Regions from separate parts of the Homo sapiens genome. Here regions 1, 2, 3 and 5 are each linked to region 4. The links are contacts of gene promoters, found by promoter capture Hi-C in blood cells and fetal thymus (Javierre and others, 2016). All regions are on one chromosome and are shown on one strand. The core of a region is centred on a gene start or on the middle of the fragment in contact, and the rest is flanking DNA. Distances in the headings are between cores, read along the strand shown. Region 1 overlaps SSX2IP (SSX family member 2 interacting protein). Region 2 has its middle 5.5 kb from the start of SSX2IP. Region 3 has its middle 19 kb from the start of PRKACB. Region 4 holds the start of DNASE2B (deoxyribonuclease 2 beta). Region 5 has its middle 25 kb from the start of SSX2IP.

Region 1 (2,700 bases), core at 57-2,556, 260 kb before region 4:
AAACTGTGAGAGAGCAGCTTACAAACAGCATCAGAAAACAGTGGAGAATTTTGAAAAGTCATGTAGAAAAGCTTGATAACCAAGGTAACCACTGCTTCTATGCATGTAAAGTGAGTTGTGACATTTGGTAAGGTGTTGATTTTTAGTCACTTAGAAAGCCGCATTATAGGCTCAGAGCTAAAGTACTATACTTCAGTTTGGTGGTTTGAAAGCAAGATTTTGCATACATTTATTTTTTCATTTTATTTTATTTTATTTTACTTTTTGAGACAGAACCTTGCTCGGTCACCCAGGCTAGAGTGTAGTGGTGCCATCTCGGCTCACTGTAACCTCCGCCTCCCAGGTTCAAGTTATTTCTCCTGCCTCAGCCTGCTGAGCAGCTAGGACTATAGGCGCACATCATAGCCAGCTAATTTTTTGGTGTGTTTTTAGTAGAGATGGGGTTTTGCTGTGTTGGCCAGGCTTATCTTGAACTCCTGGCCTCAAGTGATTCACCTGCCTTGGCCTCCCCAGAGTGTCTGGATTACACGTGTGAGCCACTGTGCACAGCCGACATTTTACATACATTTAGATGTGAGGTTTGAACCTCACTGAGAAAAATACACTTTGGTCTCAGAGTGAATGTTTGAAAAGAGGACATCATGGATCCATCTGCTCTGGATGCAGTATACAATCAAATAAAGATAACTGAGTTGGGATAAAAGACTACACATTGGGTGTAGTGTACACTGCTTGGGTGATGGGTGCACCAAAATCTCAGAAATCACCACTAAAGATCTTATTCATGTAACCAAACACCACCTGTTCCCCCCCAAAAAGAGAAAACTGAGTCTCTTTTACTGACTCTCAAAAATCAAGAAATATTTATCGTAGTATAGATAGGAACATTTTGCTTATTTCTAGATGCTTGCAGATTACTATGTTCCTAGTAATTCACTTAAAATTATTTTTAAAATAATAGATGTTTAATGCAAAATATTAATTTGGAAGTATATAAAGTAGAATATCCTGGTCTCTATTCCATACATATAACACTTAACAGTTTGGTGCATATTTTTCTATACTTTCCTCTATGGATTTGAAAGATACTTACTTTTTTTTAAATTTTAAAAATTGAATATTACCTATATTTTTCTTTAGTGTGCTTTTTTCACTTAACTATTATCCTTATACATAGCTCTACATTGATGAATATATTCTTAATATTTTCTGCTTGGTAAAGTTTGAATGCTTTTAAACTAGGAAAATGAAGATTTCTGCTCAGTAAATGAAGCCTATTTAAAGAAAAATTTAAATTGTCAAAATATGAACTCAGTGCCATTGTGTTAAGTATTAGTAAAGAGCAATCAGCAAAATTATTATTACAGCACCAAAATGAATCTACATGAGATTTTGTTCATTTGAGTCAATGCTGTTTATTATCAAATAGCAAGTATGTTTGGACTTCGTATTTGTTGAATTTAATATTTGAGAGCAAGATTTGTGACACTTCATTGATCTTTGAAGCAGTGTCAACAAAAACATGATTTTATTTTTCTCTTCTCTGAATATGGCCATTTTGTCTGTTTTTAATTAGGACATAATCATGAATAAATATGGATTACAAATTGTTGGCAATAGAGCTCTGTTTGTAAGCATATCATTTAGTCTTAAAATTGCACAAATGTGTAATTGTCGTCATGAACTCCTGTAGTTGCTTTGCTTAAACATTTTTTATAATGTTAAAATAATATAAATTTAATTTTGTTATAGCTTATGAAATTTTAAAAAGTCAAAGGACGTAACTACTTTTTAGAAAACCTATAAAATTCTAGAAAGATAAAAGTTCTGAGAGCCCTTGTTTTAAAGATATGTGCAAAACACTGTAAACTAAGTGGTGGCTATAAGACCTATGTCAACTTACTGATTTTGTCTTAGTTTCAAAGGTACACCTGGAAGGTTTTAATGATGAAGATGTAATCTCACGACAAGACCATGAACAAGAAACTGAAAAACTCGAGTTAGAAATTCAGCAGTGTAAAGAAATGATTAAAACTCAGCAACAGCTTTTACAGGTGAATATGAATTACCTTTTAAAGCTGTTCTCCATGAAAAGCCAGAATTGTGCTGAACCTTACCAGATTTGTATTCCTTTATTTCATAAGGCCCTGGTATTTGACAGATTTCTAGTCTGTGTTCCCTGCTAACAGATACATTGTGTACCACTCCTTAAATAGTCCATACTTTGCTAGTTGGGGTAGTAGGTTTCGGGAAATGAGAATTCTCATTTGACTTTTTGATTCTTAATAATTTCTATTCCTGCCCTGAAGTTTGACTGGCCTTCCCTTGCTTTCATTTCAACTCGTTGGAGTGTCGCAAGGTCCCTCAGGAACTTACTATGTTTTAAATTTTAATAGCAGCAGCTCGCTACTGCATATGATGATGATACCACTTCACTATTACGAGACTGTTATTTGTTGGAAGAAAAGGAACGTCTCAAAGAAGAATGGTCCCTTTTTAAAGAGCAGAAAAAGAATTTTGAGAGGGAGAGACGAAGCTTTACAGAAGCCGCTATTCGCCTGGGATTGGAGGTATTTTAAACAATTGTAGTGCTTTTGAAAATACTGGGGGTGGGTGGGCCTCAGTAGAATGCTTCTAAGGTCTCCTTTTTTTCTTGCTATTTACTTATTTTCTAAAATATTTACTGGTGATCTCACAAAT
Region 2 (2,700 bases), core at 84-2,583, 300 kb before region 4:
GAATGATTAAAAAAAAGAATCAGTCTTGAATCTTTATGGGAAGAGCCTTCTAGGCAGACTGAATGGCAAGTACAAAGAGCCAAGGGAACTGAAAAGGCTGCCTCTATGGTTGGCACTTTGTGGCCAAAGTGCGAGTTCTGAAAGGAGGATGGGGAACAGGGGCCAGATCATGCCAGGGAGGGCTAGGTGGGAAGTTACTAAATACAATGAGAGGCCATTGAAGGTTCTTAAATAGGGAAGGGGAATCAGAATTTGATTTTCACTTTTGAAAGATGCCTCTAATGTAATGGGGGCAAAAATGAAAGTCTTCAGACAGGTTGGAAGAAATTCATTCACACATACACACAGACATATAGAAATAAATATTTCTATTTTAAAAACAAAAATGGTAACATATAGTACTTATTCTGCAACTAGTTATTGGTGTACATTTTTAGAACTCCTCTTTGAAATTATGCTCAGAGTTGGTTTACTGCCTCCTAGAAAAATCAAACACATTATGTTTTTTTACCTTTCCTTACCCACTCAAATGCAGTAACTTAGCAGGAAAACAGGTTTGGGATTTTAACATTTTGCTCCAGAATGTGTTCATCAGATTTGGCTCTTGCATGACTTTTGGATTGTCCCAGAAATCAGATTTATTTTTTAAAAATAATTATTTTCTTTCTTTTTTTTTTAACCTTGCAACTCCAGCTCAAAGGAAAGCATTATTTTCAACAAATTCAGTAAATAATGATGTGATACCTTTTGAATATGTATACATGGGAATATGTATACAGCCTAATAAAGTGCTTACTTTGAAATGAAAAACATTTATTTGAATTTATAAATTTAGTCACCAAATAATTATTGAGTACCAACCACAAAGCATCAGGCACTGTTTCAGGCACTGGGGATACATTAATGAACCAAGTAGAGGAAATTTATTTTCCTGCTGAGTTTATATTCTAGTGGAGGGAGACAGACCAAATGAACAATCAAAATAAGTAAAGGATCTATCATGGTTTAAGATTGTATAGGAGCAAAGTACGAGAAATTTGGAAAGCTGGAAGGGAGTTCCGATTTTAAACAATGTTGTCAGGTTGGCCCTTACCAAGATGGTGACATTTGAGCAGACTCTAAAGGGAGGACGTAAGTAACAAAGATGCTAAGGGGATGAACATTCAAACAGAGGTCCTGAAGCAGGAATGTGCTTGGCAAAGTTGAGGAACAGTGAGGTGGCTAGTGGTTGGTTGAGTGCTTAGTTGAATGGTTGACAGATTGTAGGACATGGAGTCAGAGAGGTAAGGTGGTGAAGGTGAGGTTGTAAGAGCCTTGCAGCCATGGTTAGCACTTTAGCTTTAACATTGAGTTAGGGGAGCCAAAGAAGAGAAGTGACAGGATCTCACATTTTAGGGGAATTACTCTGCCTACTGTGATATAAATAGACTACAGAGGAGCAAGGGTGGAAGTTTTGATAAGTTTTGGAAAACAACAACAGCAGCATTTCATAGTCACATCCCTTTAATTTTGCTAAAAAAAAGTGGAAAGCAAACTAAGCATTTTTAAAATAAAATTTTCATATCTTATCTTTCCTTTCTGATATAGTTCAGATATGTGTCCCTGCCCAAATATTGTGTTGAATTGTAATTCCCAGTATTGGAGGTGGGGCCTGGTGGGAGGTGATTGGATCATGGGGGTGGTTTCTCATGAATGGTTTAATATCATCCCCTTGGGGCTGTCCTCCATGAGAATAGTGACTCCTCATGAGATCTGGCTGCTTAAAAGTGTGTGGCACCTCGCTATCTTTCTTTCTTGCTTCTATTTTCGCCGTATGAGGTGCCTGCTCCCACTTCACCTACTGCCATGACTGGAGATTTCTGAGGCCTCCCTAGAAGCAGATGCCAGTGTCATGCTTCCTGCACAGCCTGCAGAACCGGGAGTCAATTCAACCGCTTTTCTTCATAAACTACCCAGTCTTTACAGCAATGCAAGAATGGCCTAATACACTTACCATAGTAAAGTTCTATCAAGCCCAATTTCTTTTAGCCCTGGGCTAAAAATGTTCTTAGGCTTAAGCCTACAATGGCTTAAGCAATAGGCCATTTACTGTCTCACATGATATGCAGTGTAGAGATATACAGAGCCAAGGTAGGCTAATGTAGCCACTCAGTAACATCTGGGCTTGGGGTTGCCTTTTCTGTACAGGCACACCTTAGAGGTAGTGCAGGTTCGGTTCCAGACCACAGCAATGAAGCAAATATCACAATAAAGGATGTCACATAGTATTTTGGCTTCCCGGTCCATATAAAAGTTATTTTATACTATACTATTGTCTATTAGTATGCAATAGCATTATGTCTTTAAAAACAAGGTACATATTTTAATTGAAAAATACTTCATTGCTAAAAAATGCTAACAATCTAAAAAAATCTTGAAGCCTTCAGCAAGTTATAATCTTTTTGCTAGTGGAGGGTCTTGCCTTGATGTTGATGGCTGCTGACTGATCAGGATGGTAGCTGCGGAGGGTTGGGGTGGCTGTGGCAACTTCTTAAAATAATGCAATGAAGTTTGCCACATCGAGTGACTCTTCCTTTCACAAAATATTTTTGTATCATGCAACGTTGTCTGACAGCATTTTACCCACAGTAGAGCTTCTTTCAAAATTGGAGTTAATCTTCTGAAACCCTGCTGCTTATCAGTTTAAGTTTATGGAATATT
Region 3 (2,700 bases), core at 70-2,569, 270 kb after region 4:
ACCACCCTTCAATTCATTCATATGACCTTATTCTTCCTGGATGCCAGACAAGTACTCGGGTACCAAGAGGGCGGGTGCAAAAGGCTGTCACCCTGACCCTCCACTGATCTGTTAAACACTTAAGTTGTCTGTGGATGGCAAAGCTAAATGAGCACACTGTAACACATGCCCTCTAGGACTCCGGAGGTCACAGGTTCCCCTCCCCTCCCCCCCACCCCCCAGGAAGCTTCCACTGGACTGCACAGGATTCTACTCCTGCGGATGCCCAGAAGCACTTGTCCCAGTCCCTGTACCCACTCACCTGCATGCTCCCCGTCCCGTGAGGGGATGAGAGCTGCGAGCTGAGTAAACAAGTCAATCCCTTTGTGAGTCCCGCGAAGGGGTCAAGGGAACTATCCCATTTCTGAAGGAAGGGGCTGGAGGGGTGTTGTAATAAAAAATTCTATTGGACATATTAAATTTGAGATGCTTACTAGACATACAAATGGAGATTTCAAAAAGATAGCTGAATATGAGTCTGAAACACATCACTGCCTTCTAAATTTTATTTTAATCATATGCATATCTGTTAACAACTAGTTTATACTTCTGGTTGTATTAGGGAAGAAAGATGGTTTAAATTTTCTTTAACTATTAAGTAGATCCTCCTCTTAATTGTGACTGAGTCTTGAAATGCATACCAAAGGTCGTAGGCTCTCTGTACTTCCTCTTCTTTCTAAACTCCCGATGGATTTCTGATAAGCAGAATGCTCCCCCTATTAATTCCATCTACTGCCTGGAAACTGTGGATATGTTTCAATATATGCCTAACTGGACTCTGCGGATGTAATTAAGGCTACTAATTAGTGACTAAATAGATTCCTCTGGATTACTTAGGTGGGCCCGATCTAAAAAAATTTGCTCTTGAAAGCAGAGAACCTTGTCCAGCTAGGAGCAGAAGAGAGCCATGGCAACATGTCATGAAATTTCACGTGTGAGAATGATCAGCACACCATTACTGGCTCTGAGATATTACAGCCTATGTAGAAGCACCAGAGAGAGGGCTCTAAGAGCTAAGGGAGCCCCCTAGATGACAGTCAACCAAGAAACAGAGACCCTAGTCCTATAACCATAAGGTACTGGATTCTGCCAGAAGTATGGATCAGCTTGGAAGTAAATTCTTCCCCAGAAACTCCAGATAAGAGCCTGCCAGAATTCTGACCTACAGAACAGTGAGATAATAAATGGGTGTTATTTTAAGCCACTATTTAAGCCACTATTTAGTTATAGCAATAATAGAAAATTAACACAAGACTTAAATGTAATAAGGTGATGGGGATGAGGAAAGTGGGATTCTATTTCCAGAGTACTAAAATGTATGAAATATGGACATGTGAAACTCCTAGTCATGGTTGATGTGGGCACTGTCTCCCTTTAACACTTAGAGCCCTTCGTGTTGATGAGAAAATTTCATTGATCTACTAACGCCCTAGCCAAGACTATAGCCAGGTAGTCCCATAACTAAATCTCCAGATGGGCTTTCTAAATACCTGAAATGTGAAGATGAAACTTCTTCCCTCAACCACCACTACCACCACAGAAATGGTGCAGGGCATGGGATAGTCACTCCTTTCACTCACATGAGAACCCTCAAGAGCACTGATAGGGCAAACTGCGAACCTCAGGCATTTGACTGCTAGTGTAGTTGCCTGACTCCACAGCATAAAGAGGTGAAGGTAGGGGGCTATAGGCTCAGACAGCAACATTACAAATGTCCAGTTTTAAAAAACACATATTTCCCCTTCACCCATAATTACTACGATAGAAACCCAATTTTCACCATTCAGATAATAACCTGAAAACCTCACTCTTCAGATAATGTGTGTAAAAGCATTCTGGATATGAAAGGCTGTAAAGTTATACTAATACAAAATGTAAGAAACTTCAGGTAAACCAGTAGTCAAAAATCATGCATAGAAGTTCCATTTATGTAAGACGACTTTCTCCTAGCTAATTCCTACTTGTTAATCAAAGTGTAGTTCAATGTTATTTCTTCTCTTCTAGTTCCTAAAATATATTAACACCCACGTTACTGTACTGACCACATTGTAGTAATTGCATGTTTATACTTCTTTTTGTGAGTTTCTCATATCATTTCTTACCAGAATCTAACACACTGATGATCACACAGTATACACTCAATAAATGTTTTTAAATTGATTAATTTCTTCAAGATACCATAGCTTTTTTATGAGATAGCTTTAGGTATCTAAAAGATGAGTCACAGACAGAAATAAAGGCCCTTTATTAGGCCCCAATATATCACATATATTTCTACACTACTTTAGGGAGCTATGCATTTCCAGTCTTCAATTTCTCTCTTTTAATTTAATATTATTGAGTGTAAAAATGTTAAGAAAATACAAAGCTTACTGCCTAGAATATTTTGGAATCCATTTATATTAGACTATGTAACATATTCTAAATGTTGTAAGATTGACTATAACAATGCTAACTTATTATATGTCAGATATCATTCTAAGTGTTTCACATGAAGTAAATAAAGCATTTATTCCTCACAACAATCTACCTTTATATTGGATATTATTATCCCATTTTCCAGAGTGACAAAGAGGTTAAGTGTGCTGCAAAAGGTCACAAATTGCAACATTTTATAGCGTTCTACTTTATTTTCTCTATCCCTCTCCAAAAAGTTTATCA
Region 4 (2,700 bases), core at 182-2,681:
GGCTGCTCCCCATCCATCCAGCCCTCATAGTACTGCCAATGGGTTTCCTAAAGTGCAAATCTGACCATTCACACCCCTGCGTGAAGTCCTCCAATAGCTCCCTTTCAATGTCAAGTTCAAACCTTGTAGCTCAGCACACAGACCCCTTGGCTGTCCCCACCTCTCTAACCTCACCTCCGGTCATCTTCCTGTATTCTCCTGAAGTTCCAGCAATACCAAACTACTTTGCAACTCCCAAATTTCCATGTTGCTTCTTGCCTCTCTACCTCCTCATTGCTCCTTCATTGGCCTGAGATGCTCTTGCACATCCCTTCTTTTTCCAGCTACTTCTTAATTGTTCTTAAAACTTAGCTCAAAAATTACATCCTTAGAGAAGTTTTCTGGGCTCTCTGTTCCCCAGTGTTCCACCTATGCCCTTACCACATAACTGTGAGGTCCTTGAGGGTAGGAACCATGTTTCGTTCATATTTATATTTTCAAAACTCCACACAGACCTCTGTTGAGCTCAGTAACTGAGGAAAGACTGACTACTGCCTTGAGTATATCTGTGTTCTGTAGCCTGAAGTTTACACAAAAAGCTTGACACCAACCATTATGGCAAACCTAAATATCCCAATTAAAGGGTGAAAAAGTAGTTAAAGCTTTAGGAGAACCCATGACTATAATGCAACACAGCATTTAATGTCTTTGACACTGTACAACAGGCCAGTGGCCTACGTACCAATCATGGCAACAGCTGCCTCTGCTTCCAAACAAACCGATGTTAGGCAAACAGTGCTGTGTGTGACCAGGTCCCCCTTCTCTTTCTCATAAGGAGCAGCACATGCTCCATTTTCAGAAAAAAATAATCTGCCTTCTTTACTCTGTCAGTCTTTCAAAGGATGTTGGAAGTGTTCTGTTAGGAAAAGCCATGATGTAATTAAAAGAAATTGCCAGCTCACAGAAGCTGTCAGCTCAATCCCACTTCTGTGGCTACCAGCCTTGCCCCGCTGAGAACAGTGAATCAGGCCCAAGAGGGGCTGCTCAGCTCTTTTTCAGGGGGAAACTCCGTCACTCAGAAGCCTACCCCTGCCTGGGAGTTTGGCCGATTTGCACACTTTAACTTCCTTTATTTGTAAAGGGAGGAAAGAGAATGGACATTCCCCTTAGGAACTTCGCAGTGAGCCAGGCCAACTCTGTACCGAGGCTGTTTGCATGCAGCAGTCCTTCCATTTCATTTACCTACCAGTCCACAGCTTTCCCTTCTTCATTTCTGCATGAAATTGTTGCTGCCCCCAGCACCCCAAAGAGGCCAAGGAAGAGCAAAGCAAAGGATGTTCTTAGCAGTCTTGCCATCATTTTCTGTTTCATTTATTTCATGCCACAGCAGGACACTTTCCCCATAGATTGTGGAGTCTGAGTTTCAAGGCGCTCTCAGGCTGTGCTGGCTCTGACGTTTGATTTGATTTACCTGTGCTGTTCGCTGTTCGGGGCATTTTCAGAGTGGGATGGATCCCATGTAATTGTGCGATTCTGTCACAACATGCCAGCGTGACTCTGGATGCCTTTGTGCTGAATTGTTGACTGGTTTGCAAAGTCATCAAAAAGTTCTGCAGAAAAATAGGGAAAGATAGTTCACTCTTTGGAGTGAACATTGTTGTATGAAATTCATTGGGCAGGGGGACTTCATTTTAATAAGTAGATGTTAAATATATTTCATGTCTTCTCCTGTTTGACTCAATGAATGAGAGCAAATGCAGGTGGTTCGTACATTAAACAGAAATGATAAAACCTTATGTCTTAGTAATAATTAGGATCTGTCACTTAATAATCTCTGTCTTAAGGAACCAGTTGCTAAGGGATACTTCAAAGGGTTGCTTCAAAGTAACAGTAAATTTAACTGTATTTTACCAAAGATGTTTACATATTCTCTCCATCTTCCTGGTTTTAGCCACTCAATGTGGTGCTTCAGGCTGCTATGCAATAGGTAAACATATTGATCACCCACTCTTCAGGTTAATAAAAAATGTTACAAACATCTATTTTGCCCAAACTATGCTTTCTCATTCTCGAAGCTGAATCTGAAGTAGAAAACCAAAATAAAATGGCCCACTACCATAACAACTATAAAAAGGTGAGACCAATTTCTTTGTGAATCAGGGAAGGAGTAGATAGACATATGAAAATAATTTCTTTAATGCATACTTTTGCATCAATTATTAAAGCTGCCATCATAATAAATAGCAGTTTACATCATGCCTGGAAATAATGCTGCCCCTAATCTGTCTCTCTGATAATCACAATGATAACTATAATAGTTCCAGATCAGAGGATCCAGACCAAACTGAACCCTTGTAAATCAGATTACCTCTGTGGTTGCACTAGAACTGTTCACAATTCTCAGGATTCATAGAAAAGGGGAAGGCTTGTGTCTCTATCCTAAGACAGAGTTTTGGGAGGAGGACTCTGTACCACCTGCCCAATTACCTGTGGTGCCTGCAAAAAAGGCAGAATTCTAGGACTTATTCCAAACCTGCTACATCAGAATTCTTCCAGTTGGGCTCAAGAATCTATATTTTTAATAAGCTTATTGGTGATGCTGGTGTACCCTAAAGTTTGAAACTCACTGCCCTGAGGCCAAGACTATGCTGTATTTGGTAGATTCACAGCTTTCTGCAGGTTAAATGAAGAAATATTTTTCTTACCCATTCCTCCATTGGT
Region 5 (2,700 bases), core at 99-2,598, 320 kb before region 4:
CTCTGTTGCCCAGGCTGGAGTGCAGTGGCGCAATCTCGGCTCACTGTAAGCTCTGCCTCTCGGGTTCACGCCATTCTCCTGCCTCAGCCTCCTGAGTAGCTGGGACTACAGGCACCCGCCACCAAGTCTGGCGAATTTTTTGTATTTTTTAGTAGAGACGGGGTTTCACCGTGTTAGCCAAGATGGTCTTGATCTCCTGACATCGTGATCTGCCCACCTCGGCCTCCCAAAGTGCTGGGATTACAGGTGTGAGCTACCGCACCTGACCATCTTTTGCCCATTTTTTTATTGGTCTATTTGTTTTTTTGCTATTGAGTTGTATACATTCCTTATGTTTTCAATATTTACCACTTGTCAGATATAGAGTTTACAAATATTTTATCCCATTCTGTAGGTTGCTTTTTCATTTTGTTTATTGTTTCTTTTGCTGTGCAGAAGTTTTTAGTTTGATGTAGTTACCCTTGCTTATTTCTGTTTTTATTGCCTGTACTTTTGGTATCATATCCAAAAAATCATTGCTCAGACTAATATCAAGTAGTTTTTCCCTATGTCTTTTTTTTCTAGGAGTTTTATAGTTTCAGGCCTTACATTTCTAAATCTTTAATCCATTTTGAGTTGTCTCATGGATTTTTTAACACTTATTTTTTCAAGTCAAGATCCAGACTTGGTCCACATATTGCATTTGATTGATATGTCTCTTGTGTCTCTTTTATTCTATAGGTTTCCTTTCCTCTTTTAATTTTTTTCTTGCATTTTATTTATTGAAAAATCTAGGTCATCTGTCCTGCAAAATTTTCTACATTCTGGGTTTTGTTGATCTTCATATATCATTTAGCATCCTCCCCTGGCCACTGTTGATTCCTGTAGTTACTGCTAATCTTTAGTCTCATTTTTTTTTTTTGTCTGTTTTCTTCATCCTTTCGGCTGTACATATGCCTGCAATATAATGGAGCCCTGCCTAAAATCAAGACCAGTTGTATAACACAGGTTTGGTGGTAGGAGGAAGTCTGTTTTATTTTTAATGATTCTAGAGCTTTCACCTATGAAATCTAAATCTCACAGTTTCTGTTGAACAAGCATTCTCCCTTTCCATCCCACACTGTAGTCTAACCAGACATTTATTCCCAGGGACTCACCACTTGTCTCAAAAACCTTTATTTAAACAAAGATAAACATTAGCATACATAAAGCATTTATCTGTCTTGACTTTTGTGTCCTACCCCTGTGTTTCTAATTTCTTTTTGTTTACCAGACAATGCCTGGTGCCCTGGGATCCACGATATGCTGATCCCTTCTTCATTCACTGTGGGATTGAGGTCATCCCTCAGGGAATAGACTTTCATCTGATTAGATGTACTGAATGGCTGACTTAGCTCCATTCAGGCCTCCATAGAGAAGACAGACAAGTGGGCCCTCCCCTGGGAGAAACAAGGTGGGCCTAATGCTAGACAGCATTTGATATACTCACAGCTGTGAACTCTTGAAAACAAACAGGTGGAGGAGGGGGAGTGCCATGTTGTATTCAGAGCAGGTAGTTGCGGTTTACTAATCAGATCAGCCATCCACAAGCTGGCAGCACTGTAGCTCATGTGTGTGAACAGTGAAAGGCAATATTACTATTTTAGCTTTGGCCTTTTGGGTGACAGCAGCACTGGCTTATATCCATTTATTTCGCCTGAAAACTCTGTCATCTCTAATGCTCTCTAAGACCTCTCCAAACTCTATTGTGTAAGACATAGATATGCTAGTTAGCTAAATACATCCTTAAACTGACTTTGCTATAAATAATTCCCAGTTGCATATAGCTTCAAATCTATTCTATCTTTTTGAAGAGTACAGTTATTTTTATTGCCTCTGAGTTCCATTATAATAAATGAATTTGCAAGCAAAAAAAAAAAAACTTGGAGAAATGAAAACCCAGAACCATATTACTGGAGAAAGCATATTTTGCATTTGGATGTCAACTTTTGAAGGGAAATAATGATGTACTCAGAAGCAGAAACTGGTGAACATAGCTGGAACCATTATCTAGACAGGAGCATCAGAAGGCTGTCACTCAGGAAAAAATCCTGTGAAAAGAGGAGATTTGCTACCCAACTGAAAAAAGAAGCATGTCCCCATGCCTTTAAAGGTTTGAGGGAATGGAAAGTAGGCTACTGGGAGGAGAGGCATAATAATAATTAACTTCATAGCCTTGGCAGTTTACAAAATGCTCTATTTTATATTTTCTCATTTTAACTTCATGACAACCTGGGGAGTGTGCTGTCGTGCCCATTTTTAAGAGAAATTAATGAGGTAAAGGGCGATTAAATGACTTGCTCCAAATCACATATCCAATAAGTAATAGGATTTAAAACTAGGTCTTTGGGTGCCATCTGTACATCCCTTCCTACCACAAGTCTTTTGCGTAATGGCTACATGGTATCAGCCTCCCTGAGTCCCTTCCCGCTGAGCTCTGAATTTCCTTTCCTGGTTACTGTAAGGACAGAAAGTGGCCCTTTCTCCTTACTCGTCTGTGATGCTCTGTTTGATCGCTGTCTGCTAACTACGAGGTATCCTTAGGCAAGTTGCTTTTCCTCTCTGGGTTTCATTTTCTTAATTCTGAAGATTTCTTCTACTTCTTAAATGCTCAAATTCTTTATTAGAACTTAACTTTTAAAGCATAATAAAAATAATAGCTACATTTCTTAAGGACTATTT

The links. Contacts are between HindIII fragments. The CHiCAGO score rates a contact against its expected background, and 5 or more counts as called.
Region 1: a contact is called between a fragment that was not itself captured here and the fragment with the promoter of DNASE2B in region 4, in 1 of 17 cell types (neutrophils). The highest score is 6.5, in neutrophils.
Region 2: a fragment that was not itself captured here is called in contact with the fragment with the promoter of DNASE2B in region 4 in 2 of 17 cell types (M2 macrophages and M0 macrophages); the score reaches 5.2 in M2 macrophages.
Region 3: a contact is called between a fragment that was not itself captured here and the fragment with the promoter of DNASE2B in region 4, in 1 of 17 cell types (endothelial precursors). The highest score is 6.9, in endothelial precursors.
Region 5: a fragment that was not itself captured here is called in contact with the fragment with the promoter of DNASE2B in region 4 in 1 of 17 cell types (neutrophils); the score reaches 5.0 in neutrophils.

The regions. Positions count from the first base shown.
Region 1 is chr1:84,655,702-84,658,401 of GRCh38, reverse strand. SSX2IP (SSX family member 2 interacting protein) reads left to right here. Exons shown (of 14, transcript NM_001166293.2): 9 at 1-84; 10 at 1,918-2,054; 11 at 2,397-2,570. Among named protein-coding and RNA genes, the nearest start is that of LINC01555, 22 kb to the right of the region's middle. The HindIII fragment of the contact is 2,465 bases long and covers 74-2,538 here.
Region 2 is chr1:84,694,604-84,697,303 of GRCh38, reverse strand. No RefSeq gene overlaps it. Among named protein-coding and RNA genes, the nearest start is that of SSX2IP, 5.5 kb to the right of the region's middle. The HindIII fragment of the contact is 5,437 bases long and covers 1-2,700 here.
Region 3 is chr1:84,123,597-84,126,296 of GRCh38, reverse strand. It overlaps a transcript of PRKACB not described here. Among named protein-coding and RNA genes, the nearest start is that of PRKACB, 19 kb to the left of the region's middle. The HindIII fragment of the contact is 2,181 bases long and covers 229-2,409 here.
Region 4 is chr1:84,397,215-84,399,914 of GRCh38, reverse strand. DNASE2B (deoxyribonuclease 2 beta) reads right to left here and starts at 1,431. Exons shown (of 6, transcript NM_021233.3): 1 at 1,226-1,431. The coding sequence starts at 1,350. The HindIII fragment of the contact is 1,924 bases long and covers 644-2,567 here.
Region 5 is chr1:84,714,542-84,717,241 of GRCh38, reverse strand. No RefSeq gene overlaps it. Among named protein-coding and RNA genes, the nearest start is that of SSX2IP, 25 kb to the right of the region's middle. The HindIII fragment of the contact is 7,914 bases long and covers 1-2,700 here.